Linked DNA regions of Homo sapiens: region 1 is linked to region 2. The links are contacts of gene promoters, found by promoter capture Hi-C in human tissues and cell types (Jung and others, 2019). All regions are on one chromosome and are shown on one strand. Each heading gives the region's core, a stretch centred on a gene start or on the middle of the fragment in contact. The rest is flanking DNA. Distances are from core to core; before and after follow the strand shown. Region 1 has its middle 270 kb from the start of XKR9. Region 2 holds the start of EYA1 (EYA transcriptional coactivator and phosphatase 1).

Region 1 (6,821 bases), core at 557-3,056, 430 kb before region 2:
AAAGAAAAGAGGTTTATTTTGGCTCACACTTCTGCAGGCTGTACAGGAAGCATGGCACTGGCATCTGTTTGTTGTCTGGTGAGAGCCTCAGGGAGCTTACAATCATGGCAGAGGCCAAAGAGGGAGCAGGTATATCATGTGGTGTGAGAGAAAGCAAGAGAGAGAAGGGGAAGGTCCCAGACTCCTGTAAACAACCAGATCTTGAGTGAACTAACTGAGCGAGAGCTCACAAATTACTAAGGGAATAGTGCTATGCCATTAATGAGAGATCCAGACCTATGATCCAATTCCTACCAAAGGCCCCATCTCCAACACTGAGGATCACATTTCAACATGAGATTTGGAGGAGACATACATCCTAACCATATCAGGTAGGTAGGTAGGTAGTGAGATAATTAATGTTCTTGATTCTGTTGAGTAAAGACCTCAAGGCATTTCACACGTATTAGACAGTTCAATACATTTGTTGAGGACTTCCTATGTGCAAATTATTGTGTTAAGCATAGAAGTAGACATGGTCTCTTCCCATGAGAAATTTAAATGATTAAGTAAAATATTATATTGTTATTATTAATTAATATAGATATTAATTAATATGAATAACATGAATGTGGTAGTATAATATGAATAATGACTGATGACAATATAAGGCAGAATTAAATAAGGGCAGCAATGGAGATGCAGACCGATGTGAGATAGGATATGGAGTAGGGAAAAATTAATTGCATCTCAGGAGATTAAATAATTTATAGAATACAGTATTTGAGCTGGACTTTTAAGGATGCAAATATTCAGCAAACTTTGATAACCACTAGTCTAGGTCAGAGTTGGCATTGCCATAATAGTGATGTGAAGTTCAGCTTGCCTGTTAGAAGAGAAGGAGGTAGGGAGAAGTTAATGACATTTCAGCACCAGGACCTCTCAATTGCATGGACCACTTCTGTATTAGTTTGCTAGGCCTGTCATAATAAAGTATTATAACAAAATACTACAGGTTGGGTTGCTTAAACAGCAGAAGCTGGAAGTTCAAGGTGCCAGTAGGACTGGTTTCTCCCGAGGCCCTTCTCCCTGGCTTGTGGAGTGCCACCTTCTGCTGTGTCCTCACATGTCCTTTTCTCTGTGCATTCACAACCCTAGTGCTTGTCCTCTTTTTGTAAGGACATCAGTCCCTTTGGATTAGGGCCCACCCTTACAATCTCATTTAACCTTAATTCCCTCCATTAAGGCCCTATCTCCCAATACAGACACAGTAGGGGGCTAGGACTTCAACATATGAATTTTAGGGGGAACACAATTCAGTTCATAACAACTTTTAAGGCTGTGAACGGACCCTAGCTTTCAGTTCACTTGATCATATTTGTGTGTGTGAAAGTGAGTTATTTTTATACTCTTTGTCTTCAAGTGTGTCCCTCAAATGGGACAGGTTTCCGACCCTCTAAAACCCGGGCCTACCTTCTTCCTGGGGCAAGATATTCATTAGGCTCACTGTTCACCAGAAGAGGTAGCTTTGAGTGAGGATACTGTAAAGGAGAAGTGGGTAAATGAGGGGCTCCTCTATTATTGAAGAGAGAACATAGGGGCTGGTGTGAATTCCAAGTTCTGATAGGGCTACAGATGCTTTTAGGTTAGGGATCAATACATAGAAATGAAATGTGCTGGTCTTTAAGAATCATCTTTCTTTTCTCTATCCTACACCACGAGTGTTAGAAGGAACCAACAATGATGGAAACCCAAAGGAATAATGGGACGCTTAGGGCGTTTAGGGCATAGAGCAATATCTTGTTGAAGTTGGAAGAGAATGTAGTCAGAGTTGGAGATGAAGGGGAAGAACAGTTTTTTTTTTTTTGTCTTTCCTGGCATAACGTACATAGAAGTTAGATTTAGGAGAAGATTTCTTAGTCACAAAATCTGGAGAAAGTAGTTAATGGTAGTAAAGAATGAAGGCTGCCAGGGAACAGGGGAGTATATTCTCTTCCTTTTTCTTCCTTTACATTCCTCTGCTTTTCCTTTTGTATCACTGTTTCTCCTAAGTGATAAGAATCACTTAGAGGGTGCTTATGAAAAATGAAGATTCCTATGCCTAATCCCAGACTGAGTGAATTAGAGTCTTTGATGATTGGGGCCCAGAAATAGTTATTTTGAAAGTTTCTGATTTGATTTTTATACTCTCTAGGGACTGCTCTACATCCACACAAGAGTAGAATACTGCCTCTTAATTGCATATTGCTGTCATCAGTATCTATTAGTTATATCAGGAACTACCATTTATGGAGCACTTGTTGAGCTGTTCTAAGCAACATACTTACCCGATTCTCATGGTAAACATTTATTATGATAATATTATCCCCATTTTGTGGATGAGAAACCAAATCTCAGAAAAGTTAAACAAATTTCTCAAGGCCACATAAGTAGTGTTATTTAAAAAGTGAAGGGGAAAAAGAGAAGAAAAAAATTGATAAACATATTAGTTTGCAAGTATTTTTGTATGTATAAAATTACTTTAGAGTTATATGTTGTCTTAATTGTGTGGATATTATAATAAATATTAACTCTTAAGACCCTTGCCTGGTTGAGCATTGGTCAGCCATACTGTTAAACTGATATTCTGTTGAAATGGAATGCCAGGAAATTCCAGGCAATTTTGGCAGAAGTAATAGACTTCATGAACTTTTCTTGCCAATACTAACATCTCTCTATGACACTTAGGGGGCTATAGAGACTTGTTTGATGGGCTGATGTTCATATTTTTAATTTGATAAGAAATTTGGGCAGCTTAGCAATAAGGTATACAGTTTTGGAAAATATGAAGAAAACCCTGCTATGTGACAATCCATTTCTGTAGGATTTGGGACAATAAATACGATGTTTTATTTTTGTAAAGCAAAACAACTCATAGACAAAAGGCTTATTGCAACTATTTTAGTATTCTATCCCTTAATCCTGCACAATTCCACTTAAAAGAAGATAAAATTTCCATTCAATGGACCAAACAACACAATAAAGTTTCTAGAGGAAACCTTTGCAATTACTATGCAAGCTTATTATAACACAGGGGAAGAGAATTAAGCAATGCATGTGTCCCCTCAGCAAATTCGTATTTCAAATATGCAAAAATAAATGAATTATGCATGTTTATTTAGACTAACTGGACACCAAGAAATGGCAAAGGCAGAGTCCAACTTGATGTAACTCGTTTTAACAAATGTAGTTCCCCCAAAATTAAGAGCTCATTTATTTCATAGAGGTTTTATCTGCAGATGACAAGAATAGATATTTACTTCTTTTAATATTTACTTAGATATAGGTTTCTGATTTCTAAAGTACTTTTCTAGGTTAAAAATGTTTTGAAATGTACTAAAATATAAAAATCACTCTCATCCCTCCATATGTGTTTGGATTTTATAAAATAAGAAGCTGAGTATCTCTTACATACATTTTCTCCTCTCAAGGTTAATAACTTGGTTAGCTATTTGATATATATCCTTCCTGTTTCTTCAGTATATATATATATATATATACACACACACACATATATATACACATATATACATATATATACATATATACACATATGTATATACATATATATATACATATACATATATACACACACACACACACACATACACATTTGATACCCTAAATTGGAATATTATTACATATATTTATCTAGAATGTATTTTGAGTTTTACTTACTTAAAATGTACTATGCACACTTTGTATTGTTACTATTAAACACTGAACTTTGAACCTCTGCTTAAATTTTTCCCTCTTTTTGATATTGTAAACAATTCTTCAGTGGATAGCCTTGCCAGGTATGCATATTTTGCATTTCAGTAGATATTACAAATAAATCATTTTCCACAGAATTTGTAGTAATTTGTCCTCCCACAGTATATGAGAGTGTATTTCCCCCTCGTATTTGCTGGCACTGGCTGTTAGCAGTCTTTTTAATCACTGACAATCTGCTGAGAGAAAATTATATTTGTTTTACTTTGCAATTAAGAGTTGGATGAATTCTAAATGTTTTCCCATATTTTAAATTTGTCTGGTATATTTCTAAAAGGCACATAAAATCTAGAATTAAGAATAAGAAAGTTAGCTGTTAACTCAGATTTGAAGCACCTTTTATTTACCAGGTTGGGCAATATATTCAAAACTACTTCTGCAAGGGAGTGAGAAGAAGAATAATTCTGTTTGTTAGAGACATTCAAGCCATTTTGTTTTTTACCATCTGCACTTTGTTATTGGAAACAATTTTCATCTTTATTGCCCCATGTTCCAAATTACATTTTTAATTTTGAAATCTATACAAAAAACCAAAGATTATGATTTTGGACAGTTTCTAACTAGTGCTAATTTATTTGAGCTTTTTCACTAGTATTCTCATAAACTAAAACCACTTTTCCTTCTTTAGAATAAGTTATGGGGTCTTGGTGGATAAGAAACTGAAATGAGATGCTCTTTACTCAATCAAACCAGCAAATAGCTCTGGAGGCTTAGTCATAAAACCCAGCACGGAAATAATACTTGTCTCACAATAAGGTCAGAAATGATAACTGAAACCTTGGAATCCTTAAGATAAGCTACCTGTGTAATCAGGGGAAATAGCTGAAAGCCTAATAGAAGGCTTTGTGTTGGAGGACAGTGATTGAAGTTCAAAAGGCTTAGCAGAGGTCAAGTTGGCAATGTCAGGTATTTCCCCAAGTTTACTTCATTCAATTAAGTTGAAACAATCTGCTCCTGTGAAAGAGTTAGTGGCTTTCCTTACACTGGAAGAGCCCAGGCAGAGGGATGCTTGGTTTTCTCTGTATCGTAATCATGTCTGGGATGATTTTAAATAAGAGATTGAGTTAATTTTCATGAACTCTCTGTGGGAGAACTTAGATGCAATACAGTGATTGTAAATCTTGTGAATTTACCGGACACATTTGAAAGGGATGGACAGTGTAATTGTCTACCTGTGTGTGTATTAGCTGACTATTGGCAACAAAATGCTTTTCAAATTTTCATTGTTTCTAAATGCGATGACTATTCCTGTGTCTGTCCCGTTAATTGAGCTGGGTCTCTTCCTGTTTAGTCTAAACCACTGTTGATTGCCTTGACTCCTACCCGACTGAGGGACCAAATGCCCTGGATTGAGAACATTCTTAGAAGTGCCTGAACTCTCATTTCAAGGCTGCTTGAACCAGGCAGATGTCAGGGTAGAAAAGGGTCCAAAGCCGCTTCTTTAAAAAGTAAATTGCATGCATTTAGGATTTTGTCTTTTTCTTTGATATGTTATGTTTTTTTCTTTTAAAAAATGTACTGTCTTATTTCTTAGTTGGAGTAATTATTTTACAAACATGAGTGAACTTTGCAGAGGAATAGAAATGGGACATACCCTAACTGCAGCAAATGATCAGATTACAGAGATAAATTGATATATGAGAGGTTCCGGAATGGTGGGTAATTACAGCACATACCTCCAGGAAATTCACACACACACATGCACACATACACACACCCCACATTAACCTCCTGCATATGCGTATGTATGTGTGTGTGTGACTGTGACTGTGAAGTTTAATTATAGAAAATATTTAGGAGATAAAACCTGTTTTTAAGTTGGATAGCACCATACATCATTATTAATATGTTTACTAAAGTTTAAGATATGTTTTTAAGAGCCCACAATCCCAAGAACTATTTATTAGTCACATACTAGGCAAAATAAATGTGAACAAACATGATTTAACACATGATTTAACTGGCTAATTGTTAGATTCATGTGGGCCCACCCAGACCAACTAAATCAGAATCTCCAAAATTAGGATCTAGCAGCAATCTGTAGTTTAACAAGGTCCCCCAATGATTCTGATAGCCAAGTTTGTGAAGCCTAAAAATTCAGTCTAGGATGTCATTTTGTTCTAATCAAACAAATTTTGATTTGTGTGATGTTGAGGGAATTGTGCAATTGACTAAAGAATGAAGGATTAATGCTTAATTTTGGTAATGCACATGAACACTATAGTTATAAACTGCCTCATTGGAGATTTCCAGCGGTCTCCTGACTTTCTAATTATTGGTTCCATTTTACAAATGAATAAATGGATACTGTTAAAAATAAAATAATGAATACCATAAAGTTAATAAGTAGGAAAACCAGAATTCAGTCTCAATCTTTCTGACTACATGTCCAGGGCTTCCAGCACACTGACCTCTAGTAAACTTGAAGCAAAAATCATTAAAGGCCTTTCCAGTGGGATCTCTATTTAGATCTACCATTTTATTTTCCCATTATCCTATAATAATTTTTGAAGTTAGCATCCTTTCAGTTTAGAACATATATACTGAATTGACATAACCTTGTTTGGATGATGGGTTAGACCACAGAGGGATGGGTTCTATCTTCAAGGAGTCTTGTTGGGGACATGAGACTTACTTGGGACAAGAGTAGAAAACAACAGGTTAAAGTGGCAAAATGTACATTGTGGATTTTCAGTGCTGTTATCAGTTTAGAGGAAATTATTTTGGGCCAAAAATTTTAGTGATGTCTCCAGGAGAAGCAGGATTTGATTTGGGTTTTGAAGAGTGGGATTTGGAAAATTCAGGAGAGGACATTCCCAGGTGTGGGAATGGCATAAGCAAAAGAGTGAGTGTGTGTCCATGTGTGTGTGTATGCAGGTGTGCTTGTCGTCTGTGTATTTAGCAGTCATACTTAGTGCTCGAGAAGAGGTTGGTCCTGCTTGGGAACAGTGAGAAAGATGGAATAGGGTGTAGAAGATGGTGCTGTGCATCATCTTTCAAGGTGGCCAGCCTCTACAGGGCACTGAGACTGT
Region 2 (6,647 bases), core at 1,246-3,745:
AGTTAATAATGTTCTGTGAAAAGTAAACTGTAAATGGAAAGGGATTCTAAATCTCAGCAGCACAGAGCAAATAAAATGTAGGTACTTGTCTAAATTACGGGTTTTCCATAGGCTTTTTTTGCTTGCTAGAAGCAATTTTTATAAAATGACTATAATTTAAAACTTTTTTTTCAAACTGAAAAGAAATTTTCAAAGTGAAAGTACTGAGCTTATCTAAATAAATAGAGTTGGCAGGCAAGCTAGTTTTGTCCAACCACAGATCAACCTGAGTACTCCCAAATTTGAAAGACAATGGCAATTTTCTCATCAGAATGTATTTTATGTAAAAAAAATTTTCCTTAGCCATAAATCTGTGTTTTAGGGTATATTCTTGCTAAAATTTCTCCTCAATCGATATCTCCAACTATGGCATCATTGTTGTAATGAAAACTTAAATTTTAAAAATAAAAACCTAAACCTAAAATTGAAATGAAGTTCTAGGGAGACGTCAATGTTTTTTAAATGTTAACACTATATTTCCTTCTTTATCAAAGACTCCATAAAATAAATGCTTTAATACTACTGCTGATTATTTTCAAGTAGTATAGTACATTACTTTTTGCAATGCGTCGTTTAAAGAAAATGACAAAATAGAGTCCGCATGAAAACAAAAATAAGTATTTAAACCACATGGATGCTACCAATAGCTTTAAAGGATTGTTTTCAATATCAATTTACTTAAAATGTTGAATGAAATACTTTTGATATTTGATAAACAAGTGGTTTTATTCTTGCTGCAAGTGTTTTTCTTCTTTACAATGTATTCTTAATACGATTTTCACAAATGGAAATTTTCTTTTGAGAAAATCATTTATCATGTCTATGAAACTCACACAGCAGTGGACTTCCATTTGGCCCTCTAAAACTGAACAGTGGCTCAATTAGGCCTCTATGTCTGTCACCGCAAAGAATGTTCAAAGATTGAAAATCCATGGCTGCTTGCTCACTTACTGAACACTTTGGGCCTTGGGAGAACTCAAGCATGCAGAAAGTCAAATATCAAATATTTGATAATGCAAAAGCATGACTGTACATGTGTGCATGTCCTCAGACCCCAGACTGTGGGGGAAAAGACTCATGCAAGCATAAAATAAAACCTACTTTGAAAGACACATTATAAAAACAATCCCAAACCTATAAAACTACACTATGTGCTTACTATCGACCTTTTGTACCCCTTGCCATTTTAAGAAATAAAACAAAAACGTTTGCCTAAATTCAATGACAGCTCTGAATTTATTGAATTCTTGCAAATGCTATGCTCTAATGTGTTCAAAACCTCCTCCCAATAAATATAAACCCATGAGTCATTAACAATTCATATACTGATTTTGAATGGCAAATATTTTAAATGGTAATTCAAAAGTTTACAGATCTTGTTTTAAACTTCAAGGTCCACTCAAGCCTTACAAAGTGTCAATAAGAGAAAAATATATTAATTGGGTAAATGTTTGTTATATCACCTTCTGAAGATAAGTTTGTTTAATATAACGTTTGGGAAATTTATTAAAGCAAAAATATTTTCTTCCTTAAAAAGTGCTATCAATTTAATGTTGTTATCTGTTGTCCTTTCAAATGTTAAATGCTTCATTTTTTTCATATCAAAGTGTGTAAAAGTTACTTATGTATTGCAATGAACATATATGTACCGCTTTATTCAATACCACACAAATATATTTGAGATTTGTGCAGCAATTCAGAAAAGAGATATGAAGTCATCTCCCTGCAAGAATATGGTCCTGCATTACATTTATCTAGAGCATAACAAAAGTAATTGTTAACAATTAATTTGTAATTATTTCTTAATGATCCTGATCGCTCATAATTTGGAGGTTGGGAATTCTACTTCTAGGATGAAACCCTGTGGCTCATAAAGTACTAGGTACAAAGTGTCATAATTTTCCCCATGCCATAATGTTTTTCTTTGAAAACAAATCAAAACAATAATAAAAGCGCTCCTGTTAGCTTGGGCTTTGCCCACAGGACAGCTGTTGTCAGTCACTACAATTTTTCAAACAGTCAGCTTGTACTTACAGCGCTTACATCTGCTGCATCCACCAGTTTAATGTGTTCCTTCGAATTTTCTGGGTTAGCAAACCTCCATTCCTGACATAGTTTTGCTCCTGGATGGGTACGCGCGGGGGCTCTCAGGCGCTCTGGTGCAGCCGCGGCGCTTCTGGGAGTGGAGCGCCTCTGCAGGGGAAAGCTCGGCGCAGGGGGCAGGCGCCTGGCCGCTGCCGCAGGCTCGGGCTGCCGAGCGACTGAGCGAAAACGTGTTCCCCAGGAAGAAACCCGCCACAGTGGACGGCAACAGGAAGGCTTAAAGTCGGAAGTGGCACTGGAGAGTTTCTACCTCGCCCCAAACTCGGAGCCATCAGCTCCCACCGTTCTGTTTGGTAACAGCTTTGCGCCCAGCGCTCCTTCCCCACCAAACAGCAGCGGCAGATAGCATCTGAGAACCCTAGACAAAGAAACAGCAGAATCTCATCCCTCGATTTGTTTGCGCAGCCTTGTAGGTCTGCCCATGGAGCCTCGGGGCTTTCTTTTTTTTTTTTTTTTTTTTTTTTTGGTTTTTGCAACGCAAACCACAGCTATTCTCTTGTCCTAACCTTATTGGTTTAAATGCAACAATTGAAAGGAGCACTGCTCTGTCTGACTCAACCTTGCTGTTTAAAAAAAAAAAAATTATGTAAATGAACGCGCCCCACGCTATCTGAATAAACAGCTGTGTGAGAATAACTTCTCTGAGACGTGGTCAACACACACGCGTCCTCTTGCAACAGTAGTTACCAATTAAGATCTTTGGGGAGTAGTTACACGTTATCTTTTACACTTTTCCTAAACTTTTTTCAGGCCCTGAAACTTAGGGAATCCACTACTTTTCATAATTTATTTCCTAACTAACGTACCTACTACTGAAACAGGTCTGGGGGAAATAAAAAACTAGAATGGCCATTTCCCTTTAAGTAGAAAATGAAAAAGCAAACGTGCAAGCTTTTATCAGTTTAATAATGAAAGCCTGAAGGATGAATCCGAAATGATTTCTAGAATGGCAAATCTTCTGTGAACAATTCCTTGGCTATGAACCAGATAATGTTTCAGTGTTAATATTTTTAAATGGTTTTTGGAAAAGATTCATGTTATCTAGAACTCTTTCTTTACAGCTTATTCTTTTAAAAAAAAATTCTTACTGACCTCGGAATCTATGCATGACAGTCTATAACACTCACCTAAAGAGCTGAGCTTCAGTTAAGATATGTTTTATACAGATACATGACTTTGGTGATAAGACTTAACCATTATGTTGATTTCAAATATTCAAAGAAGGCATCGTTTATGTGACTAATGATTGTATCTCAATTTGCCAGACCTGTGCCAACATTCAAATACAAATGTTTATTTTGATACTAGTCACTCGTTGTAACCAATTTTGTGCTCTAAAATAAAATCTTTAAGCCCATCGGATTTTTCTTAAAACTGTTTTGTCATCACCCATAGAATACTATTCTGCTGATTAGGTCTTTTATTTAAGGAAAAAAAAAGCGTCCTCATTTTTTAGGCGCTTGATAGATGTGAAAAAAATTTTAAAAATCACAATAACTTTTTGCATGACTTTATAATACATTTCCAGATCGTCAACTAATAAAACACATAGACACAATCATAACTTTATATTGCTAATATGTAAATGAAAGCACCATTCCGATGCAAACAAAAAATAAAAAGCTGCTAATGACCAAAATTTATTACAGACTTCCCCCCAACCACCGAAAGTATGCCAATCTGAATTCCTCAGAAAAGAACACTTTGTCAAACATAAACGACAGTTTAAACTGCAAACTCACCTAGGATTTCATTTTGTATAGTACCAGCAAGGAATCATGGGCTAGTCATCTACCATATTTGGGAAGCCAGGTCAAAACACAGTTGATTGCTATTGGATCTGTTCATATATGCAGCAGAAATAGAATTATGTTACCACCTACTGCACTTTCTCAGACCAGAAGTATCAGTTATTCAATATACTAAAGTATATATGCAGAAAATAAAATACAGCTTGTAATGGAGATTTCTAGCATTGTCAGATAAAATGTAATGTTGTGGTAATTCAATCTGATATCAAACAGTAAATACTTTTGCAACCACATTTATTTCTAAGCTCTATAAAATCTAAAATTTGAGATGTTGGAGAATTAAACAATGCTTGAAATTTTACATTTAGCTATTGTATTCATGCTTCCAATTGTTTAACAATTATTTTAGACATAAGAGAGTAAGAAATTATTTTTCTAATCCATGAAAGATTATATTGACAAATCCAGAATATATGAACTATATAAAATCAAAACAGTGGGAATATTATGTAAAGTATGTCACATTTATATACAAGTTACTTGCCCACATTATAGTTAAATGTATCATATTACATATTTTATGTTGAAATTTAATTTTTATTTATATAACCAAATGAAATATTAAATAAATGATGCATATAATTATGAAGAAAATTAGTAAAATCATGATGAATGTAATGTGACCACTAATTGATATGGTATAGCTCATGCTTCATAATTATGTAACAAAGAGCTTAGTCACTGACTAAAAGTAATATCCATGTGCATATTTACTACTTTTAAAGAGTTTCATTTTCCTGAAGCAAAATTAGATGGATTAAAAACAATCACGTTTACCCATAAATTGTGTATGGTTACTACTTTTGAATATCCAATATGTAATAATTACTATTGCATACAATTTAAACCAAAAGTAAGTTACCCTATGATAAAGAGCCACATTTAAGCTATTAACAACACCTAGTTTATAGTGTATTTATTGATAGCCTCTTATTTCTAAATCTTCACCAACTATAACTATAGTATGTAACGTAACCATATACTTTAAGGACTAAATTGTTCCCTAAATACAGTCATACATATAACTACAAAATTTAGGGAAATTTGTTGAACATTGCTACTAGTAAAAGGTGATAGAAGAAATCATTGCTATTTCATATTTGCCATGTAAATCTCAATACATAAATGTATGGAAAGGAATTTTAAAATTTTCCAATATGCTTTTTCCTCAATAAAAAATACATAATTTTATCTGGAAAGGGAAAATACTTGAAATATTCAACTGATATGAAATGTTTGAAAACCCTCAAGGAGACAGTTGATCTTTCATATGCTGTATCACCAAACAGGTTTTATGTGACAGAGCCAGCTGTTGCCTAGATACCTGCCTGGTTATATGAAGGAAGTCTTCAATTTTGGTAGAAGAGTTTAGTGTTTTAGGTTAAGGGCATGATCAAAAAAAAAGCAAATGTCATATATATATATATATATATATATATATATATATATATATATATATACATATACACACACACACACGGTATTTACATTACATTTGTAATATTCAATACATATTACAAATGTCATGTATATATATGTGAGAGAGAGAGACAAGGACAGATACAAGAAACTCATTACAACAATCTAAAAGGTAACTTGGGCTTTTCTAAAACTTCATGAGTTAACAGTTGATTAATCAAATTAAGTATAACAAATAAACACGAGAAAACAAAGGATAAAATACAGGTGTCCCTTTCCCTTTTAATTCCAATAATGAAAATAAAATTATTTTACAGTTGTGAAGTTGTCAATAAATGATGCACTTTGAAGTTATTTTTCTTCTATTTGTGTTTACTTTGAAATAACGTTAGAAGCATGCATGCTATTACCTGGTCCAAAAGTTTACTAATCTCTTTGTTTCTATGCTTCTTATGAGATGATTATTTTTCAAAAATAACAGTATAGTAAGTTGCAAAATATAATCAGCACTTAAAGACTAATGCATTTTCTTAAAAAAGCGAAATCCCACTCATTATTTCTTCCACATGATTAAAATCAATATGTGGAAGTATTCAACATTTTGTAATTTAAACTGTTCAAAGTAGAATGGCAAATAGAGTATTCCAAAATACTATACTTCCAGTCTTCCTGGTTTCACATAAATTTATTTTTCTTATGGTCCATGCCATGGCACTACCTCCCTGGCTTCTTTATGGAGCCTTTGGAACCGTGTCTGGATGGCTGACACTATGATCCTTGTTGGCATTCTGAATGGTCACTTCCATGACCTGCTCTTTCCCCACCAGCATGAGACCTACAATGAGGGTCCTGCTCCCAGGAGCCTTCTGCTGAAATGCAACCAAGTAAAACATCCTCTATTTATTTTAAGAATGATATTATATCTGCCAAACTGAATGTCTACCAATATTTTGTGAAATGTTTTCCATTCAAACTCCAACATGATTAGCTTTTAACAGTAAAGCTAAGGAGGTAATTAACTATTAGCTGTACCATGGAAAATTATTTTAATACATATTACAGTCTTTATATCAACACAATATGAAAATAGAACCTATTTCCTGACTTCCTAAAGAGCACGTTGATTATTATATATTAATAATAACATTTATTTATGTAGGGTGTGAAACTTGTTATCCTATGTAGTAATGGCTGCCTATCAGATTTTTTTTTAAATTATTATTCTTAATAGAAACTTTAAGCAGCACTTCTTGAAACTAATAGTGATAGCAAGGG

The links. The method cuts DNA at HindIII sites, captures the fragments that hold promoters and counts their contacts. A contact is called where the count stands out against the background at its distance.
Region 1: a fragment that was not itself captured here is called in contact with the fragment with the promoter of EYA1 in region 2 in 1 of the 25 tissues and cell types used here (lymphoblastoid cells).

Annotation. Positions count from the first base shown.
Region 1 is chr8:70,931,604-70,938,424 of GRCh38, forward strand. It overlaps a transcript of XKR9 not described here. Among named protein-coding and RNA genes, the nearest start is that of XKR9, 270 kb to the left of the region's middle. The HindIII fragment of the contact is 6,952 bases long and covers 1-5,282 here.
Region 2 is chr8:71,359,574-71,366,220 of GRCh38, forward strand. It overlaps EYA1 (EYA transcriptional coactivator and phosphatase 1), which reads right to left and starts at 2,496. Exons shown (of 18, transcript NM_000503.6): 1 at 2,074-2,496. RefSeq lists enhancers at 1,903-2,424, 2,177-2,286. The HindIII fragment of the contact is 13,424 bases long and covers 1-6,647 here.